2 separate regions of the Homo sapiens genome follow, and region 1 is linked to region 2. Evidence: promoter capture Hi-C in human tissues and cell types (Jung and others, 2019). All regions are on one chromosome and are shown on one strand. The core of a region is centred on a gene start or on the middle of the fragment in contact, and the rest is flanking DNA. Distances in the headings are between cores, read along the strand shown.

Evidence for each region. Contacts are between HindIII fragments. The study calls those that stand out against the background at their distance.
Region 1: a contact is called between a fragment that was not itself captured here and the fragment with the promoter of RABEPK in region 2, in 2 of the 25 tissues and cell types used here (dorsolateral prefrontal cortex and hippocampus).

Annotation. Positions count from the first base shown.
Region 1 is chr9:125,695,693-125,700,651 of GRCh38, reverse strand. All of the region lies in intron 1 of MAPKAP1 (MAPK associated protein 1), which reads left to right. Among named protein-coding and RNA genes, the nearest start is that of MAPKAP1, 9.0 kb to the left of the region's middle. RefSeq lists an enhancer at 3,809-4,548. The HindIII fragment of the contact is 4,904 bases long and covers 741-4,959 here.
Region 2 is chr9:125,197,749-125,203,049 of GRCh38, reverse strand. RABEPK (Rab9 effector protein with kelch motifs) reads right to left here and starts at 2,508. Exons shown (of 8, transcript NM_005833.4): 1 at 2,144-2,508; 2 at 1-42. The coding sequence starts at 36. It overlaps LOC105376271 (a long non-coding RNA gene), which reads left to right and starts at 2,654. Exons shown (of 2, transcript NR_135145.1): 1 at 2,654-2,824; 2 at 3,395-3,517. RefSeq lists a silencer at 2,581-2,630. The HindIII fragment of the contact is 10,811 bases long and covers 1-5,301 here.

The DNA.
Region 1 (4,959 bases), core at 1,943-4,442, 500 kb before region 2:
GGGAAATGGATTTAATATAGGCAACACAAAATTTGGACTGAAAGTAGAATACAGTTTTATGTAATTGAAAGTGAGAAAAATGGGAGAAACCACTTAAAAAACAAACCCGAAACTCTAGAAAGAACAAGAAGGTATTAGAATAACTATTGGAATTAAGTTATAGTAATTGCTTGTGAAATAAGTGGAATATTATGTCACATTTATGCCTAAATATAAGCAGTGTTAGATTCTTAATATCCTATACGTGAGTATACTTTTATGAATATACTTTTATTATTGATGCAAAGTGTACTGAATGTGTAAAACTTCAAAAAAAATAACATTTTCCAGTTCCTTATGGACTCATTTTAAGGTACTGTGTTATAAATAAGTACCATTTCAGCAGAGAAATTGGTAGAAAATTGTTTGAAGGAATGGTTTTCTTTTGAAAATAAAGCGAGTATTTAATCTGAACCTTAGTTACTGACATAAAGGAGACTAACGAAGAACTGAAGTGCAGACTTGAATTTTAAGCAGTGTGACATGGGGCTTTGGGCAGACCCGCTTGGATTTGATTATTGGCTTTGTCAGTCTGTAAGCTGGACAGTCTGCAAAATGGGGACAGTAATGCCAATCTCACATAGTCCTTAGTGAGGACTAAATGAAACAATATATGTAAGTACCTTGTAAGTACTGTAGTGCTTCTGGAGAGATGCAGGTCCAGGCTGAGCATCCCTACTCAAAATATTCAAAATCTGGGCCAGATTTGCTGGCTCACACCTTTAATCCCAGCACTTTGGGAGGCCAAGATGAGTGGATTGCTTGAGCTTGGGAGTTCAAGAGCAGCCTGGGCAAAATAATGAAACCCTGTCTCTACAAAAATATTAGCCAGGCATGGTGGCGCACATCTGTAGTTCCAGGCTGAGGTAGGAGGATTGCTTGAGCCCAGGGGGCTGAGGCTGCTGTGAGCCATGATCACACCACTGTACTCCAGCCTGGGCAACAGAGCAAGACTGTCTCAAAAAAAAAAAAAAATCAAAATCAAAAATCCTTCAAAATTCAAAACTTTTCGAACTGACATGATGCCACAATTGGAAAATTCTATGCCTGACCTCATGTGACAGGTTGCAGTTAAAACTTTATTTCATGCATAAAATTATTAAAAATACTGGCTGGGTGAGGTGGCTCATAACCAGCAATCCTGGGAGGCCAAGGTGGGAGGATTGCTTGAGTTCAGGAGTTAGAGACTAGCCTGGGCAACACAGCAAGACCTTGTCTCTACTAAAAATCAAAACAATTAGCTTGGTGTGGTGGTGTGTGCCTGTAGTCCCAGCTACTTGGGAGGCCGAGGCAGGAGGATCGTTTGAGCCCGGGGTGTCAAGGCTGCAGTGAGCCATGATTGTGCTCCTGCACTCCAGCCTGGATGACAGAGGGAGACCCTGCCTCAAAAAAGAAAAAAAAAGTTAGTATAAAATTACCTTCAGGCTATGTGTGTAAAGTGTATATGAAATATAAGTGAATTGCGTGTTTAGACTTGTGTCTTATCCCCAGGATACTGCATGATATATATGAAAATATTCCAAAATTCAAAGAAAATCCAGAGTCTGAAACACTTCTGGTCCCAAGCATTTTAGATAAGGGATGCCAACCTCTAATGGCATTCAGGGCATAAGACATTCAGGATGTTAATATGATGTAATAAGCAATGATTTGATGGAGTGGTCATAAAAGAGTGAGACTCATTTTCATGTCTGGATCATGAAATTTGTTAATTTCTGTTGTGTTTTGTAAATTAGTGCACCTACATACTGTATTGAGAGAAGGACTTTAGGATGCTGTTTTTAAGCTATTATGTGAATTGATCTGCTGAGTAACAAGAAACACTTCCAAGTGTTTATATTATCTTTTTTGTGCCTGTAACTGCTCTTTGTTAGAAAAGGGATATTATGTTATCCCCGTCCCCATTTTACAAATGCCGAAACTGAAGCTTAGAGAAGTAATGTAATTATTAATAAAAATATAGAGCTACCGGGCCGGGTGCGGTGGCTCATGCCTGTAATCCCAACACTCTGGGAGGCTGAGGCAGGTGGATCACCTGAGGTCAGGAGTTCGAGACCAGCCTGGCCAACATGGCGAAACCCTGTCTCTACTAAAAATACAAAAATTTGCCAGGCGTGGTGGCACACACACGCCTATAGTCCCAGTTACTCGGGAGGCTGAGGCAGGAGAATTGCTTGAACCCGGGAGTCGGAGGTTGCCATGAGCCAAGATTGCGCCATTGCACTCCAGCCTGGGTGACAAGAGTGAAACTCCATCTCAAAAAATATATATATTTTATATATATATATATATATATATATATATATATATATATATATATATATTTATATATATTATGTATTATATATATTTATAAATTATATATTTATATATTTTGAGATGGAATATATATATACACACACATATATATACACATATGTGTGTGTATATATATATACTTTTTGTATATACGTATAGAGAGAGCGAGAACGCGCATGCGTGAGTAGCAAAACTAGGACTTGACCTTTGTTTTGACTCAGAGTACTGAAAAGCACTATTACTTTTTTTTTGGAGTTGGGGGTCACTTTTCCATGCTGCTCTGGATTTGGATATTGGGACTGGCCCTGTCTTGGGACTGTCATTAATTATGGCCCTTTGCCTTCATTTAAACTTAATGTTTACAGAAAGTTATTATTGATTATATTGTGAGAGTGTTTGATTATAGGTATAGTGTTATGATATGAAGCTTAAGGATTTGATGAAAATACTAATACTCATTGATAATAAAGATTGGTGGTAAGATGGTAAGATGGTTACTCATATTGATAGTGGGAATGTAAATGAGTAAAACTTTTCTGGAAAGCACTTTGGCAGTATTTATTAACAAGCTTTTAAAAAAAGTTATGCATGCCTTTTGAGCTTGTAATTCCATTTCTAGGAATCTTTATTAAAGAAATCAGAGATGTCGAAAGATATTCGTGTTCAAAGATGTTCACTGCAGCAGTATTTAGCAAAAATTAGAACCTTAATGTTCAATAAAAATTAGAGAAATCATGGAAAATTCATAGAATGGAAATAATATACAGTCATCTTAGATGTTTCAGAAGAATTTTAGTGACATACTAATATGCTAACCATATAATAAGTGAAAAAAGGATATGACACTCTATAAAGTATGGTCCCAATTATGTCAAACATGTATGCAAAGAAAAGAAATAGGTGGTGAGATTATAAGACTTGATATTTTTCTCAGTTTTAGAAATGTTCTTTGATAAACAAATTATTTAAAAATAAATCATAGTTTAAAATTGATATTAACAAATATGAGTAGAGTCAGTGACCATCATTTTAACCAATAGTTTTCACTAATGCAGGTGATTGTGAAGTTGTAAATGGATTGTATTTTCAAGTTAGTTTTCACCTCTTTTATTTTGCACTTAGAACATGGTTTCATATGTCCTGACATAAATGATGTTACTATTCCCAGGAAAGCCTTCTTTTCCCCCAAAAGTCCTATTTAAGACAGTATTCTGGAAGAAGAGTTGTATTCGTATTGGTGGTATCATTATCCCGGTGCTACCATCACCTCTTCAGTGGCCACAGGGACAACGAGTAGGCCTGTGACAGCTCCGTCTTTACTTTCAGAGGGAGTCCACTCCTATCTCTGTGGAGTTGAGGTTGGCCTTTGGTAGATAGAGATAGTGAGTTGAATGCTTACGTATTTGGGAAGTGATTTTTTGGTATGGAAAATTATGTGTGTTAAGGTAAACTGAGGCATAAGATTTTAGAGTTTATTTGCACAAACAGCGATTCATGAATTGGGCAGCTTCAAATCAGAAGTGATTCTGGGGCTCCATTGAGGGAAAGTAAGCGGGGGAAGCTTTTGTAGGAAGACTGTGGAAGTAAAACAAAAGATTTGATTGATTAGTTATACAGTTGATCACTACCATTGGAAAGTCCTCAGTTACATAAGTTTGTTGGCTGCTTCTGACTAGATAAGCTTAAGGTTTTTTGTTTTTTTTTTCATATATGCATTTATAAGACATATCTCAAGTTTTGCCTATGTTTGCAAATCAAACAAGGTTAAGGTCATTTATAAGGCCTAACTAGTTTTGTCTGCTTGAATTTTTCAGACCAGGTCTGATTTTTTTGTTTTGTTGTTGTTGTTGTTTTATTTGTTTTTTTGTTTGTTTGTTTTTTGTTTTTTTTTTGTTTTTTTTTCGAGACAGGGTTCTTGCTCTATTGACCAGGCTGGAGTGCAGTGGCACGATCACGGCTCACTGCAGCCTCAACTTCCTGGACTCAAGCGATCCTCCCACCTCTTCCTCCCCAGCAGCTGGGACTACAGGCATGCACTACCACGGCCTCCCAAATTGTTGGGATTGTAAGCATGAACCACTGCATCTGGCCAGGCCTGGTCTGTTTTAATTTATTTTAACAAATGTGAATGTCTGTCTCACTTATTTTATTTTGTGAGAAGAAGATTGAAGATCACGTTTGTTTGGATTTCAGTTTTTCTGATAGCAGTAGTTAGTAAAAATATGAGTGTTAAAATATGATGAATTGTTGCCTTTTACTCTTTTCTAATTATCATATACTTTATAATTGAAATAGTTTCAGGCTGGGCACAGTAATCCCAACACTTTGGGAGGCTGAGGCAGGTGGATCACCTGAGGTTGGGAGTTCAAGACCAGCCTGACCAACATGTAGAAACCCCGTCTCTACTAAAAATACAAAATTAGCCGGGTGTGATGGCACATGCCTATAATCCCAGCTACTCGGGTGGCTGAGGCAGGAGAAGCAATTGAACCCGGGAGGTGGAGGTTGCAGTGAGCCAAGATTGCGCCATTGCATTCCAGGCTGGGCAACAATGGTGAAACTCCGTCTCAAAAAAAAAAAGAAAGAAAAGAAATAGTTTCAGCTTGTACAGTTAAGCATGAT
Region 2 (5,301 bases), core at 1,259-3,758:
CTTGTCTCCAGGTTCCAAGACTGGCAGTTGCTTCATGGTGTCCTATGCATAAGAAAGAAAGGCACTTTTTAGACACTTATGATTATCATCTTAATCAATTCAACCTCCTTTTTAAACCTTTCCTGTTGAATGTACTAATTTCTAGGCCTGATTGATTTGAATAAGAATCACCAACTTTTCATCTTTATTTTTATTATTTATTTATTTATTTATTTATTTGAGATGGAGTTTAGCTCTCGTTGCCCAGGCTGGAGTGCAATGGCAAGATCTCAGCTCATGGCAACCTCTGCCTCCCAGGTTCAAACGATTCTCCTCCCTCAGCCTCCCGAGTAGCTTGGATTACAGGCATGTGCCACTACGCCCAGCTAATTTTTCTATTTTTAGTAGAGATGGAGTTTCACCATGTTGGTCAGGCTGGTCTCGAACTCCTGACCTCAGCTGATCCACCCGCCTCAGCCTCCCAAAGTGCTGGGATTACAGGTGTGAGCCACCGTGCCTGGCCTATGTATTTATCTTTATTATTATTTTTAGATAGAGTCTCACTCTGTTGCACAGGTTGGAGTGCAGTGGTGCAATCTCCACTCACTGCAACCTTCCCCTCCCAGGTTTAAATGATTCTCCTTTCTCAGCCTCCTGAGTAGCTGAGATTACAGGTGCCCACCCACGCCCAGCTCATTTTTCTAGCTTTTCTAGTAGAGACGGGGTTTTACCACACTGGCCAGGCTGGTCACTAACTCCTGACCTCAGGTGATTTGCCCGCCTCAGCCTCCCAAAGTGCTGGGATTACAGGCATGAGCCACCGTGCCTGGCTTTATTTTTTATTTTTATTTTTTCTGAGATGGAGTCTCACTCTGTCACCCAGGCTGGAGTGCAGTGGCAGGATCTCAGCTCACTGCAACCTCTGCCTCCCGGGTTCAAGCTATTCTCCTGCCTCAGCCTCCAGAGTAAGCTGGGACTACAGGCAAGTGCCACCACACCTGGCTAATTTTTTTTGTATTTTTCGTAGGGATGGGGTTTCACTATGTTCGCCAGGCTGGTCTTGAACTTGGCTCGCCTCGGCCTCCCAAAGTGCTGGGATTACAGGCGTGAGCCACTGAGCCCGGCCATTTATTTATTTTTTAATTAAAAATAGAAACGGGGCTGGGAGCAGTGGCTCACGCCTGTAATCCCAGCACTTTGGGAGGCCGAGGCAGGCGGATCATGAGGTCAGATCGATACCATCCTGGCCAACATGGTGAAACCCTGTCTTTACTAAAAATACAAAAAAAATTAGCTGGGCGTTGTGGCCCACGCCTGTAGTCCCAGCTACTCAGGAGGCTGAGGCGTGAGAATTGCTTGAACCCAAGAGGCGGAGGTTGCAGTGAGCCGAAATTGCGCCACTTGCACTCCAGCCTGGCGACAGAGCAAGACTCCTCCTCAAAAAAAGAAAAAAAAATAGAAATGGAGGTTTCGCTTTGTTGTCCAGGCTGGTCTCGAACTCCTAGCCTCAGGCAATTCTTCCACCTCAGCCTCCTAAAAAGCTGGGATTACAGGTGTGAGCCACTGCTCTCCGCTCAAAGGACAAAATATTTAAAGAAGCTGAGAAATACTGAGCTCTGGGATAAATCTTGGCCTCAACATAGCATAGAAAGTAAGGCCTTCTGCTGTTGAGCTTTTTTCCCGTGAACTCACCTCCACAATCTCTTGCATTATTGGTTTTTTTGCTGTTCTTGTAATATGGCAGGCCTTTTCATAATTTTGCAGCCTGTTCTGCTTCCCCTATTTGGAATGTCGCTTCCCTTCTGGGAAATTTGCAAACTCCTAGTTAACCTTCAAAGCCCAGTTCAAAAGTCCCTTCCCTGGTGAAACCTTCCCTGATTTGCCCTTTTCTCTTCCACCCACATCCAAGTTACTTCCTTCTTCCACCCACTGGGCTCTGAAGGTATTAGCCATCACCATTGCAGGAATCATTTGGAATGTTTATCTATTTAAGGCTTCTAGACTAGATTCTAGATTAAATTCCACTAGACTAAGTTCCTAGAGGGCTGGGCCTGTCAGATCCATTCCGAGAACCTACCAATGGACCTGGCATGGAGTAGAAGTGGGGGAGTGGCTAGTGAATGAAGAAAGAAAATAGATTGAGAGATGAATGGATAAATCTCACCTGCGGCCTAGGCCACTGACAGCTGTCCCCAAAGTCCAGAGCTCAGTTAGGCTGGCTTCACGTGGGCGGGACCTCCCGCAGCAGCCGCCGCTACCAGCCCAGCAAATCTCATCCCCACGTGGCAGTTCTAGGGGATAGGAGACGGGGTCGGGAAAGAACAGGCTGATTCGGTCAAAGTGGCCGGGACGGAGCCAGGGAAGGCCCTTCCCCGTTCTTTGCACCCGGCTTGGGCCCACTCCCCTAAAAGATTCAGACTCCCTGCCCGAGACCGTGATAGACCCGGTATCCGGGGACCCTCGCCCCTACCCTCCAGCCCCGGACTGCAATACCTGCGGCGACTTAGGCCAGTCGCGAGCCGTGACTCCACCCCGGAGGGGCGGGGCTTAGGTCCGGGCCCTCCTCCCAGGACCCGGAAGAGCGTCCGGGCCAACCGCTCCCTCTTCCCTGCTCCGCCCCGAGGGCCCGGCGCTGACTTCCTGGGCTGGCGGTGGAGGGGTCCCCCAGACCGGGAGTGGACGCCAGGCTCTGCATTTCTCGGGAACCAAGTGGGGTGGGCCTTCCCTGGGTCCCTCCCTCCCGGACGGGATAAATAAGCCGGGGCTACTTGGAAACGATTTGCGCAATGCCGGGTTCGGGCGTCCGTTTGGGGAACTCAGATGCCTGCGGCAGCTGATCTACTCTGTAAGGGGCTAACAGGGCTGGGCGCCACCACACTCCAGCTTGGGCAACAGCGCAAAAACTCCCTCTCAAAAAAATAAATAAATAAAAGGGGGGGAGGGTATAACAGTTACATTTCCAGTTACAACGATTGTTTTTTTTTTTTTTTTTTGAGACGGAGTCTCGCTCTGTCGCCCAGGCGGGACTGCGGACTGCAGTGGCGCAATCTCGGCTCACTGCAAGCTCCGCTTCCCGGGTTCACGCCATTCTCCTGCCTCAGCCTCCCGAGTAGCTGGGACTACAGGCGCCCGCCACCGCGCCCGGCTAATTTTTTTTGTATTTTTAGTAGAGACGGGGTTTCACCTTGTTAGCCAGGATGGTCTCGATCTCCTGACCTCATGATCCACCCGCCTCGGCCTCCCAAAGTGCTGGGATTACAGGCGTGAGCCACCGCGCCCGGCCACAACGATTGTTAACAGTTTCTAAAGGGGAGAGTTGAGCATGCAATCCTCCTGCGCAGTCTTCGGGCCAGCTCAAGATTTGGTGCTTTAAACAGCTGATTCATTCCATAATTGCCATTTGTAATTATGGCAGGTGCTATGCTGAGCCAGACACCACCACGCTTTGCCTCCAGGAGCAAGTCTTAACTAGAGAGAGATCAAAGAAAAAGACAACTAGGGACGACTGCCAAGAGTGCAATAAATATAAAGTTCAGCCAGGAGAGTATCTGTTCTGAAGTTACTTTCCTCCAGGCCTCAGGGTTGTCTGTTTGTAACCATGGAGCTAATAAGATTTCTATCATAGGCTGGGCGCGGTGGCTCACGCCTATAAGTCCAGCACTTTGGGAGGCCGAGGCGGGCGGATCACGAGGTCAGGAGTTCGAGACCAGCCTGGCCTACATGGTGAACGCCCCCGCCCCCCCCCCCAACTAAAAACACAAAAATTAGCTAGGCGTGGTGGTGGGCGCCTGTAATCCCTGCTACTCAGGAGGCTGAGGCAGGAAAATTGCTTGAATCTGGGAGGCGGAGGTTGCAGTGAGCCGAGATAGTGCCACTGCACTCCAGCCTGGGTGACAGAGCCAGACTCCGTCTCAAGAAAAAAAAAAAAAAAAGAGAGATGTATGTAGTAGTTGTGGTGGGGAATACATGACATAATGTAAATAAAAGTGCTCAGCACCCAGCAGCTGGCACAGAGTTCTCTGTCAAGGGTAAAGCTATTCCTGACTATAAATGAACAATGTCTCTAGACATATTCAGAATCTACATTATCTTTGTTTTAGTTCATAACCATAGGTTCTCTGTGTCTTTCCTGAAAATAGAGAGGTGGCTTGCTCTCTTATGTCTGTTTCAAAGAACTCCAGTCTCTGAAACTGTCGCTGTGTCCTAGAAAATAGAGAAAACAGCTCAGGTTAGAAACAGGAGCTCCTGGAGTATAGAGCTATGGTAGCTTAGTGGGAAGAGATCAAACATACTTGGGTTAAAATCCAAGCTCCAGGCTGGGTGTGGTGGCTCATGCCTGTAATCCCAGCACTATGGGAGGCCAAGGAGGGCAGATCACGAGGTCAGGAGTTCAAGACCAGCCTGGCCAACATAGTGAAACCCCATCTCTACTAAAAATACAAAAATTAGCCAGGCACGGTGATGCGCACCTATAGTCCCAGCTACTCGGGAGGCTGAGGCAGGAGAATTGCTTGAATCGGGAGGCAGAGGTTGTGGTGAGCCAAGATCATGCCACTGCACTCCAGCTTGGGCAACAGAGCAAGACTCTGTCTAAAAAAAAATCAGCCAGGCGTTTGCCTGTAATCCCAGCTACTCAGGAGGCTGAGGCAGAAGAATCACTTGAACCCAGGAGGTGGAGGTTGCAGTGAGCCGAGATCGTGCCACTGCACTCCAGCCGGGGCAACAGAGCAAGACTCTGTCAAAAAAAAAAAATCCAGGGTCCAGCACTAACCATCTAACTCTGACATTTGGCAAGTTACCCACTCTGAACCCTAGTTCCTCATCTATAGAATGATGATAGTATTACCTGCTGTGCAGACAGAACTGTTCAGAGGATGTGCTAATACAGGTGAAAGGCCAGGTTGGTGAAAGGAATATTTTAGCTACTTGAAACCATAACCAAAATTTATTGACAAAATGGAATTCAAGGTCTGCGGCTCTTTCAAACATATGGAGTCTTTGTGAGTTCCCACTTTAGTGGAAAAATCCCCATTGACTGTCTGCCAAAGAGAAGTTTAGGGATATTCAGTCATTCTGCTCTCCTTCAGGAAAGAAAACCAAGTCCAGGTTAGCTCTGCCATATGTCCATGTGCATCTCCACGTACATTTCTGCTCACAGCTGCAGAATGCTCTGATGTCCCCGGTGTTTTCTGGCTAGCTCTGTTTCAAGGTGCCATGCTGGAGTGGCACATCAACAAGAAAAATTGGAAGAGGTTTGTGGGCAAAATAGCAGCCAGTTTTCACTGCGGGACCTATTTATTTATTTATTTACAGACGGAGTCT